2 separate regions of the Homo sapiens genome follow, and region 1 is linked to region 2. Evidence: promoter capture Hi-C in 16 types of primary human blood cells and fetal thymus (Javierre and others, 2016). All regions are on one chromosome and are shown on one strand. The core of a region is centred on a gene start or on the middle of the fragment in contact, and the rest is flanking DNA. Distances in the headings are between cores, read along the strand shown.

The links. The method cuts DNA at HindIII sites, captures the fragments that hold promoters and counts their contacts. A CHiCAGO score of 5 or more calls a contact.
Region 1: a fragment that was not itself captured here is called in contact with the fragment with the promoter of LYRM9 in region 2 in 1 of 17 cell types (megakaryocytes); the score reaches 5.2 in megakaryocytes.

What each region holds. Positions count from the first base shown.
Region 1 is chr17:27,940,599-27,946,062 of GRCh38, forward strand. All of the region lies in intron 2 of LINC01992 (long intergenic non-protein coding RNA 1992), which reads right to left. Among named protein-coding and RNA genes, the nearest start is that of LINC01992, 48 kb to the right of the region's middle. RefSeq lists enhancers at 4,619-4,678, 4,729-4,788. The HindIII fragment of the contact is 4,829 bases long and covers 1,784-5,464 here.
Region 2 is chr17:27,889,542-27,895,389 of GRCh38, forward strand. It overlaps LYRM9 (LYR motif containing 9), which reads right to left and starts at 3,824. Exons shown (of 4, transcript NM_001076680.3): 1 at 3,776-3,824. RefSeq lists an enhancer at 1-445 and a silencer at 3,456-4,005. The HindIII fragment of the contact is 2,313 bases long and covers 2,744-5,056 here.

The DNA of each region.
Region 1 (5,464 bases), core at 2,948-5,447, 51 kb after region 2:
TCCGCTTTTAATTTCTAGGGAGAGATGCTCAGTATTAGTAAAAAGGACGTGGACTTTGGAGTTGTACACATCTGAGTTTGTTGGGCTAGACACATTGGACATGTTATACCCATGAACCCTGGCTGACAAGGTGCCAGCCACACAGCCAATCTCCCCTACTGATAAGATAAAGGACTTGGCCTATCACATATGACTCTCCTGACAACCACTTGATGGTTACCTAGCGAAGGAGGTAATTAACAAAGAATCTTACAAGAAACTCGTGTTGCTCGGGCAAATGCCCGGCCTGGACATCCCAGGTCCAGAGGAGTGGAAAGAACCCAGCCAGTTCCAACGGGATCTGCAACGTACTTTCTGACCTGTTGTTCTGACGGCAACAGAGCAGGACACTGTCATCGCCTGCCAGCCTCCAAGTCTCTGTGACACTGTCTCAAAACAGTCTAAAGCTTTAAGTCCCCTCAAACCTCCCACATCTGCCATGTGGCTGGATCACTCCAAAATCAGGACATGTCCCTAACCTTCTATTAAGGGCATTCGACTTTATACCATGTCACTGAGCATCACTCAATCCTGCCTATAAATATGGATGCTATGCTAACAAGACTTATTGCTGATTTAATGGCAGTGAGTACAGGCTGGTGTGCTGCACACATACACAGAGAATGGTATTGAAAAATGGGAATGATAATTAGAGTTTAATAAATGGTAATTTGCTCCTTGCTGCTGTGTGTGACAGGGGTTGGGGAGGGATGAAATAGAGGGGCCCTTCCAGAAAGTGAAATGTGGATAGAACGTATGCCATGACAGCTTTATTTTAATTTTCACATTGCCCAGGATTGAAGTTAATGCTCATTTACCTACAGATCCTTTTCCCTGGAAATCACCTCTTGTGGAACATGAGTGGAGAAGACAATTAGACAAGAAATATTTATCACTGGGACCAAATTTTAACTAGAGTCATAGAATGAAGAGGTCAGGGCTCCAGAGACAAAGTGAAGCAGAGAATTAAAATAATTATCTGGATCATTCAGGGGAAATAAAATCATTGTTTTTGCTTGAGTGAGTGTCTGAATGATCTAAATAATTGTCCCCACCCTTTGTTTTGGTCTGGTAGTGAAGACCTGGCCAATCGATCCAGTAGCAAAGGATGGAAGTTGGAAGTTTGTGGCGAGAAAGGACAGGAAGGCTGAGTAAGCCTGAATCCCCCTGGTCCTGCAGGCCTGAGCATTGGGCAGAGGCTGGCCCAGTCCAGAGCTTGGGCTGGAGAGGGAAGGATGGTATTCCTGGAAGCTAGAGACCAGAAAGTAAGCAACGCTGAAAGTCGCATGGGAAACCAAGGTCGACAAACCCAGAATACAGCCAGAAGGAGCCAGGTTTAGTGAGTGAATCCAGGAAGCTAAAAGATTAAGCAGAACAGAATCATGAGGGGTGTGTGTGTGTGTGTTTGTGTGTGTAGTTAGGAAAGGTTAAACAATTGACTATACCAGAGGTTTGCAGCTTCTTGGACTCCACTGGCCAATCAAGAGAAGTGGAATTTTTCTGGGGCAGTGGCGGTATGCTAGTGTGCAAATGGAAGGTATGGTGTTATTCAGCGGGCCCTGCAAGTCTCCCCTTCCCAGAAACAACTACTTTATTTCTAGATATAGAATAATAATAATAGTAAAAAGACAGCTACTTTATGTAAATGCATGAATGATCCATTGCTTGAGATTTATTCGTGGCCTACTTGTGTGTTCATTTTTCAAACACAAATTTTCCTTGGAGGACAAATCAGTAGTTTCCAAGCTTACTATAGAAATTAACAATAACTAATTGTGGTAGATTTTAAATTCCACAGTTATTCAATATTGTTCCTTTTAAGAGACAGAACTTAATTCCCATCTCCTTGAGCATGGCTTGGACTGGGTGACTCATGACCGATAAAATATAGCAGAAGTTATGGTGTGTGATTTCCAAGTCTGGGTTATAAAGTGTTTTGTAGATTCCTCCTAGTTCCCTCTTTTGGATTGTTTGCTAAGGTAGAAGCCACCTGCCACATCACTAGGACACACAAGCAGCCAATGCAGATGTCCATGGAGTAAGGAACTGAGGCCTCCTGCCAATAGCTGCGTGAGTGTGCCACCTTGGAAGCAGACTGTCCAGCCCCAGTCAAACCTTCAAATGACTGCGGCCCCAGCTGACATTTCACTGCATCTTCGTGAAAGGCCATCAACCAGAACCACCCATCTAAGCCATTCCTAATTTCTAGTCCTCGGAAACTGAGTTATCTAATAAATGTTTGTTATTTTAAGCTGCTAAATTTTGGGATGGTTTGTTACTCATCAATAAATATTACAATAATCATAGCTAAGATTTACTGAACATGTACATGTGGCAGGCTTCACATATATTAACATATTTAAATGGCTTAACAATCATATGAGATAGTTACTATTACCAGCTCCATTTTGTAGTTGAGGAAACTGAAGTATACAAAGTTATACATAGTGAATACTGTTAGTTCCCTTTCCTGGCTGTAAATGTTGGCTGCTAAAGACTCACAGCTTCCCCTCTTTCCAGAGAATTGCCCCTGGCTGGATAGGAGTGGTCTCACCTAGGAAGTTATACACTGCCTTCCCCTCCCACTATGGCAGCCCTCAGCCACTGACTAGTTGATGCAGGGCAGGACCACCACAAAGTGGGACCAACTGTATGGTGCAATTCTCCCTCCAAATTTTTTTGCGGTGGAGTCAAGCAAAAGCTAGACTCTAGCTGGGATTACATTCTTGCTTAGATCCATTTGCTACCTCTATCCTGCTTTCCTTGCCCCTTTTCTCCCAAAAGCACTCCCTCAATAAATCAAGTGCGTTGGAATCTTGTCTCAGGCTCTTTTTAAGGAACTCAACCTAAGTTAGGCATAGTGATTTACCCAAAGTCATTGCTATGGTTTAAATATTTGTCCCCTCCCAAACTCATGTTGCCATTTAATTGCCATTGTGATGGCATTAAGAGGTGAGACCACTAAGAGGTGATTAGGCCATGAGCACTCCGCTCTCAAGAATGGATTAATGCCATTATCAAAGGAGTGGGTTCTTATAAAAGGTCCAGTTTTCCCCTTTTTTCTCTCTCTTATCCTCTTGCCTTCCTCCATGGGATGATACAGCAAGAGGATCCTCACAAGATGCTGGCACCTTGATCTTGGACTTCCCAGCCTCTAGAACTGTGAGAAATAAATTTCCATTCTTTATAAATTAGTCCATCCCAAATATTCTGTTGTAGCACCAAAATGGACTAAGACAGCCAAACAGCCTGGGTTTGCACGCGACAGTCTGACTTCAGAGTTCTTGCCCTTAAAAATATCTCTGGAAGAGTAACAAATACCAGTAGAGAGCAGTAGCACAATCATAGTTCACTGCAACCTTGAACTCCTGGGCTCAAGCCATCCTCCTGCCCCAGCCTCCCAAGTAGCTGGGACTACAGGCATGCATCACCACACCTGGCTAATTTGTAATTTTTTTGTGTGGAGATGGGGTCTTGTTACATTGTCCAGGCTGGTCTCGAACTACTGGGAGTTCCTCAAGGATCCTCCCACCACCTTGGCCTCCCAAAGTGCTGGGATTACAGGCATGAGCCATGGTGCCTGGCCACTACTAAATTTTCAGCTCCTATTTTGGCATGAGACAAGTGGTGGGTGGTTCAGTTCGGCTTTTTGTAACTGCTAGTTCTGTCCCCCACCCCGCCCCGCCAACACACACCATGGATAGTACCACGTGAAAGCCAGTCCTCCTGCCCCTCATATTCATCCCTTACCTCCCACCCTAATTAATCTGGTCCAGATCCTCATTCTTGCCATGAATTTTAGCCTCCTCTCTTAGATAGGATTTACATGTTCTTGCCTATAGTGGGTGAAATTGAGTCCTAACCCCTGGTACCTGTGAATGTGATCTTATCTGGAAGTAGAATCTTTGCAGATGTGATTAAGGTAAGGATCTGAAGATGAGATTATCCGGGATTTAGGGTGCGTCTAAATGCAATGACTAGTGTCCTTATAAAAGAAAGGAGAAATTGGAGACAAAGAGACACAGGGGGAAAACCACATGAAGACAGGGTGTAGAGATCAGAGGGATACATCTGCAAGCCACAGCATGCCAGGATTGGATTGCAGAGCCACAGAAGCGAGGAGATACACAGGGAACAGATTCTCCCTCGGAGCCTCCAGAAAGAACCAGCCCTGCTGACACCTTGATTCCAAACTTCTGGCCTTCAGAGCTATGAGACAACACGTTTCCATTATGTCAAGCCTTCCAGTATGTGGTCATTTGTTATGGCGGCCACAGGAAACAAATACACTTCCCTTCAGAGGCCCCTGTTCATCTCAGCCCTAAACCCAGCAGCAGTCTCTGGAGTGAGGTTGGGGAATTACAAAAGCCGTAACAGGCATGCATCACCACACCTGGCTAATTGTTAATTTTGTGTGTGTGGAGATGGGGTCTTGTTACATTGTTTACAAAGCCACAGCCTTGTGGTTGTTATAGTTCCCATTTTGCTTTGTTTTGTTTTGTTTTGTTTCATTTTGTTTTTTACAATCGAGGAAATGGGCCCAGGAAGTTCAAGTGATTTTTTCCAAAGTCCCTTACACCAGCAGTCCCCAACCTGTTTGACACCAGGGACCAGTTTTGTGGAAGACAATTTTTTCATGGACAAGGGGCAGGGGGGAAATGGTTTTGGGCTGAAACTGTTCCACTTCAGATCATCAGACATTAGTTAGATTCTCATAAGGAGCACGCAAACTAGATCCCTCCCATGTGCAGTTCACAGTAGGGTTTCCGCTCCTACGAGACTCTAATGACGCCGCTGCTCTGACAGGAGGCAGAGCTCAGGTGGTCATGCTCGCCTGCCCTCCACTCAGCTCCTGCTCTGCAGCCTGGTTCCTAACAAGCCATGGACTGGTACTGGTCCCTCAGGGGTTGGGGACCCCTGCCCTATATAGATGGTGTATAAAGCCCAGATTGTGGGTCTCTAGACTCCAAATCCTGAAGTTTTTAGTCCTCAAGAGGAGACTGGCAATGATACAAGGACACTACTAAAGTCTTTCTGTTCACTGTCTATAACTCTTCATTTTAAAATCTAGGTATTTGGGGATATGGAGTGTAGGGGGAACAGGAAGGTGGGACCTAGCTTCTTATCCTTCTGCCTTTGACAGCATATAATGTCTCCCATAAAGTGCAGCAGCAAAGTCTAACTTAAGCATTTAAGTGACCCCTTCAGTTCCTTAATGATGCTATAAATGCAATCCTGGTGTGATTTATAAAGCTATTAAAATAAATGCTTCCACTGAAATAAACATTGCTACCTCTCAGCATATGTTTACTTGCATAACCTAAGCACAAACTTACCCGAATATGCAAAACCTGAACCAAAGATGATAAACGGAGGGCCTGGGTGCCGTACACAAATGAACTGGATGTGTGTGGGTCTTGACAGC
Region 2 (5,848 bases), core at 2,574-5,073:
ATCCACCTGCCTTGGCCTCCCAAAGTGCTGTGATTATAGGTGTGAGCCACTGCACCCGGCTCCATGAGCTGTTCTTAAGTCTCTTTCCCCATCTTTTATTTTATGAGGTCATTCCAGAGTCACAATCTGCCACCATCCTTAGGGGGGTCTGTTATATCAACTCAATTCAACAAAATAAGAGCACAGAAACAGTCACACCCCAGGTAAACACAGGGTAAAGACAAAGAGAAAGACAGTAACCCTATATACTGTAAGCATCAGTCAACTACGCCATGCCATTCAGAGCATCTAGCACCTGTACAACTCTGGACCCAGCCCTAGGACCACAGAGATGAACAGTCTGGTGTACCTAGCTCTCTGACCCAGAGCCTTCTGCAAAGCCGATGGCTCCCATCCAGGGAATGAGTAGGACATGCCAAGTTTGAGAGCTTTTCATGTTACCTCATTTAATCCTCACAACAATATTTTAAGGGAGGTATCATTAGTCCCATTTTATAGATGAGGAAACTGAGGCCCTGAGAGGTTAAGTAATTTGCCAAGAGCAACAAGGCTAGTATAGAGCAAGGCCCGGAATAGAACCTAGGTCTATTTGATTCCAAAGACTATGCCCTTATCTGCTTCGTGAATCTACCTGCTATGTCTGAGCCACTCATAAAAATACTGACCAGATCAGGGCTAAGGACCCCACAAAGAACTCTGGCAGGGTTCATGCATGACCAGGTTCAAGCACTTATAAAGGCACTTGACTGCACTATTATCCAGTACTCCTCAATCTTCTCTACAAAACCTTGCTCCATGCCTTTCTGAAACCCAAGGACATCGTCTGCAGCTTCCCCCTGCATATAGATGGAAAAAAAAAATCAAAAGAAAGAAAGAGTCACCAGGCTGACATCAATTACACAGATAAAGGAAAGGAGCAACTAAAGAAATGCTTAACAACAAAGCTCTTACCAAATCCAAAGGAGAATATGACAGAATTTTTAAAAAGAGAAAATAAAGCTACAAAGGGAATTTCCTGGAAGCCAAGTGTTATCACTGGCACAGATGTTGAGAAGCAGGCCCACAGTCCCATTTAACCCCACTGTCCTTTTCCCTAATCTATGTCCCGATATAGGCACCTAAAAATAAGTGGGAAAAAGTCATATATTAAAAAAAGACGAAAGAATGGAACTGCAGAAAATAACCAGAAATTATGCCCTATTGAGCACTGATACACGCTAAATTAAGCCTGCACAGGCCATTTTTTAAATATGCAATTACTCTTCTTGAAGGGAAAAGTTGAAAAATAGGAATGGAGTGGTTTTGCTTCCCACCCCCACCCACTCCAGGGCTCCATCTTGCACATCTGTGTTCTCCCAAGCTAGCAATGGGGCAGCAATCCCTGCCTCCCCCAGTCCCTCTCCTACATAGCCAAGGCTCTAAAGTCCCCTCACCCCCTCCCTGCCCCCTTCATCCCTGTTGGCATTACCTTGGTTCCCAGCTTTGTACCCATACCTGGCTGGGACTATCCGAATACCTCCTGATCTGTCTCCCTCCTTCCAGCCCAATCCACATGGTGCCACCCAAGAACACTTCCTAAAAAGCACACCCTGTCACTCCCCTTCCTCAGAACCTCTGTAGAGAGTTCTCTACCCATGGCCTTCTGAGATCTGTTTCAATCCCTCTCATCAGTCTCCCCTCCTGCTGTCCTTCCCACACTTCCTGCATTTTAGCCACAGACTGAACTTGGAGGACTCTGGGATCAGACAGTCTGGGTTCAAATCCTGGTTCTATCACCTGCTAGTTCTAGGACCCTGGACGAGTTTCTTAACTTCTATCTCGAAGTCTGTTCCCCATCTGTCAATGCGGTCCCTAATAAATAGTATTTCCTACATAGGACTGTTGTAAGGATGAAATAACGCTCCTAGACTACTAAGCATGATGCCTGGCACACACTACATGTTTCCTACTAACTGTTATTGTTAATACCATCTCTGAAACATGCTGTGCTTTCCCCTACCTTGACTTCTTCACCTGCCTCAAGAATTCCCCTTCATCCTTAGAGATCCAGTTCCCTGTCACCTCCTTCAGGCTTTCATCCCATGCTGTTCACACCCCTATTACAGTCATCACACTGCTCTGTAATCACTTATTGTGATTATAATCGATGTGACAGAACTTAGAGCAGGTTTTGGAGACAAAGAACCCTAGTTTAAAAGCCTACCTCTGCTATCTACTAGCTGTGTAATCCTGGCCAACCTGGTTGACTTCTCTGGACTTCTGCTTCCCCCACTGTAAACTGGAGAAAAGAATAACCCACCTCACAGGGGTTTTGTAAAGACCAACCTAGCTAACTTATGGAAAGTGCCTAGCACAGGGGCTGGCACATCTTAAGTGCTTGAACATCTTTTTTTTTTTTTTTTTGTCCTGAGACAGGGTCTCACTCTGTCACCCAGGCTGGAGTACAGTAGCATGATCAGGGATCACTGCAGTCACAACTGCCCGGGCTCAAACGATTCTACCTCAGCCTCTCAAGTGGCCGGGATCACAGGCACACGCCACCACGTCTGGCTAATTTTTTTAATTATTTATAGAAACGAAGTCTTACTATGTTGCCCAGGCTGGTCTCAAAATTCTAGGCTCAAGTGATCCTCTTTCCTCAGCCTCCTACGGTGCTGAGATTATGGGCATGAGCCACTGCGCCCAGCGTTGAACATCTTACCCTTTCCTACTTTATTTGGCTTTCTGTTCCTTGCTGACTGTAAGCTTCTGAAGAACAAGAAACTATACTGTATTAGTTCAACACCTGTGAAATGAAGGGAAATTAGTAAGAAAAATATATATACGGTTATTAGTCACTCCTCCACAGTTTATAGTACCTGAACCATAACAGAAGTTCCATAGATGTCAATTGATTCCCAAGTTACCAGAGGAAACTAAAGCCAGCAGGAAACTGTCCTGAAGTCAAGAACCTATGGCAGGTGAACCCAGAAAACATTACGCTAAGTGAACAAACCCAGTCACAAGGGGCTACTTAATGTATGATTCCATTTATACGAAACATCCAGAATAGGCAAAAGTACAGAGACAGAAGTACATTGGTGGTTGCCTAGGGCTGGGAGAATGGGAGTAGATGGGAGGGGGGAGTGACAGCTAAAGGAGGTGTTTCTTTTGGGGGGTAATGTTCTAAAACATTATGGTGACAGCTGCACAACTCTGCAAACACACTAAAAGACACTGAATTGTGCACTTTAGATGGGTGAACTGTATGCTTCGTGAATTATATCTCAATAAAACTTTTTAAAACAATAACCACAAAAAGGATCAATCCTAGGAGCGAAAGGGTTTTGGCCACGGAGCAACTTGCTCTTACGCAGAAGCATAAATCATCACGACAAGGTTGCTCCGGCCACCGGGTGCCGCGGGCAGAGGGACGGTGGAGGGGACATTCTCCTTTTAAAAGTGGCCAGGCCCGTGAGCCTCTGAGAGGCTGGCCTCCGGGCTGCCCCGGACCTCGCGCCCCTAGCTCGCGCTGCAGGCCTTTCCTGCTCCTCCGAGGCCGCCCGGCCAGGCCTGCGTCAAGCCCGGGCGCCGCGCTCCGGTGCACTCAGCTCTCCGGTGGAAGAGCGCAGACCGCAAGGGAAAAGGTGCCGGCGCGGGTCGCCCCTAGGTCTTCAATAGATCCGAGGACACCCGAGGCCTCCACATCCCTAGCCCGCCCCCGCCACCCAGTGGCTCCGGCCGCCGCTGCCCCCGCGCCCCCGCCCTCGGCCTCGGCCTGCGCAGCGCGGCTCACCAGCCTCCAGGGGAACGCCAGCCCCGGACGCCGCCGCGGCGACGAGTGCGCCTGCGCCCCGGGGACTGAGCGGCACCGCCCCTGCCCGGCGACGGTGAGCCCAGCGCCCTCTGCCGGCCGCGCGCGGGACTCGGGGTCCTACTGGGTGCCTCTTCCTAGATCCGACCCCACCCAGTTGAAAGCTGTCCCCACTAACAGCCTTCGTTACCTGTTACCTCAAACACCCACTCTGCCTTCTGGCTGTTGCTACGCCGGATATAAGCCCTAAAGGCACTCTCTCCTCCTTATTCCTGAATATGGATTGTGCTATGAATATGGGGTGTTCAAGATCTCTGAAAGGCTTGCTGGAGGACTTTTCCTGAACCTCTCGTGTTGATGACAAGAATTGTGTTTGGATAGGAATCTGCGTTTTGAATCATTTCACCAAATTACAGTCCCATAACACCTGTCAAAAGAATAAATATGACAGTAATAAGCATGCTTCCTTTCAGACCCATCTATAATTATAATTGAGGAAAATAATACAAAATTTAAACTTAGAGCTACTGCCAGTATCATTCTTTGAAAATGAAATAATGCTGTTTATTAAATAGGCTCTCCCTGCTCTCTAATGTTTAAAGCTCAAGTGCTTCTCTGAATTGATTTAAATACAAGTTTTATATCCTGAAAGAAATCAAGATGAGTCATTATCTTAAGACAAACCCCCCTGTTCAATGATGCTGCTGATCTCTCAGCTGATGTCTAAGCGGGAGTTAGGTTGTTAGTGGATAATATTGCTTCTGTTCACGTCTCTCTTCTCCAGGGCTTTTTAAACCTGTTTGTAACGAAAAGGCTGATTTCCTTCAGACTCCATGTGTCGTTGATTTAACAGGACAACTTCTTACAGGTTTTTCTTTTTCCTTTTTCTTTTTTTTTTTTTAAGTAAAACATTGCTCCCCGGTGGCACCTGGGAATCTGTTTTTCTTCTCTTAGGATAAGAGAAGCAGGGATATTTCTTAACGGAAGTTTTGTTTTGTTCCTAACTCCCTTTAGAGCTTCCTCTTTTCTTTTTTTTTCTCTTCACCTAACATACTAGACTTCCCTCAAATCGGGGGTGGGGGATGGGAAGGTGGGGTTCCCTCCCTTGAAATATTCAGATAATTGCTTCCATTTATTTTAAAGATGTAGACTTGGACAAATATATCTGAAAGATACAATTGTACCCTCATAAATCAGCCCTCTTATTTACACATGCATAATCAAGGGCACGTCATTAATGCAGAGCCAATCAATAAATCATTAAGCTTTTAAAGCCCTTATTAAGAACAATCTGCAGTAACATCATCCACTCCTGTGCTCAGTCTTAGGATCATTTAATAATTTTAAGAAATTTCACAGTCTGTTCTGTAGTCTCATCTCCCTTTTGTTCCTAGATAGCTGTATTCCTGCATCAGAAACATGGTTCTAATACCTAGATCTCATAAAATATTGAAGATGCAAGCTGTTTGCTTTACCTCTGAAAGGCTCCACCTTCAGAATCACTTGTGCCTCTTCCAATTTTACAAACGCACAAGATTTTAACTTTCACAACAATTTCTTATAAACATCCAAATACTAAGAAAAAAAAATCCAAAGTAGGAGAGATTTGAACAATAATCTCTAATTTTTTTTCCAAGTCACAATGGAAACCTAGATTTGAAAATAATTGAATTTGAACCTTTCAACTTGACAGCAACCTTAGGTTCTTACAGCTTCAATAGTAAAATGAAATAATTTTTACTAGTCCAAACATTCACTTAAAATGACACCAGTCTCATAATCTGATAAAACCCCAACCATTTTTACCATGTCATTTTCCTATACACTGAAATTTTAGCAGATGAACCCCCTTATGTCAGACAGTGCATGATATTTACAGATAAACAAAATAGAAAGACCTTTTACTTGAGAAATTAGTCACCCACTGTCCAGGGGACATGTTCGCACAGGGGAGTTTATTGACTTTCCTAAGAAATACACCACATTCTCTTGATTTCTGACATTATGTCATTTAGCCTGACAACTGCAGATTTGTAACCAGTATTTGTAGGGAAA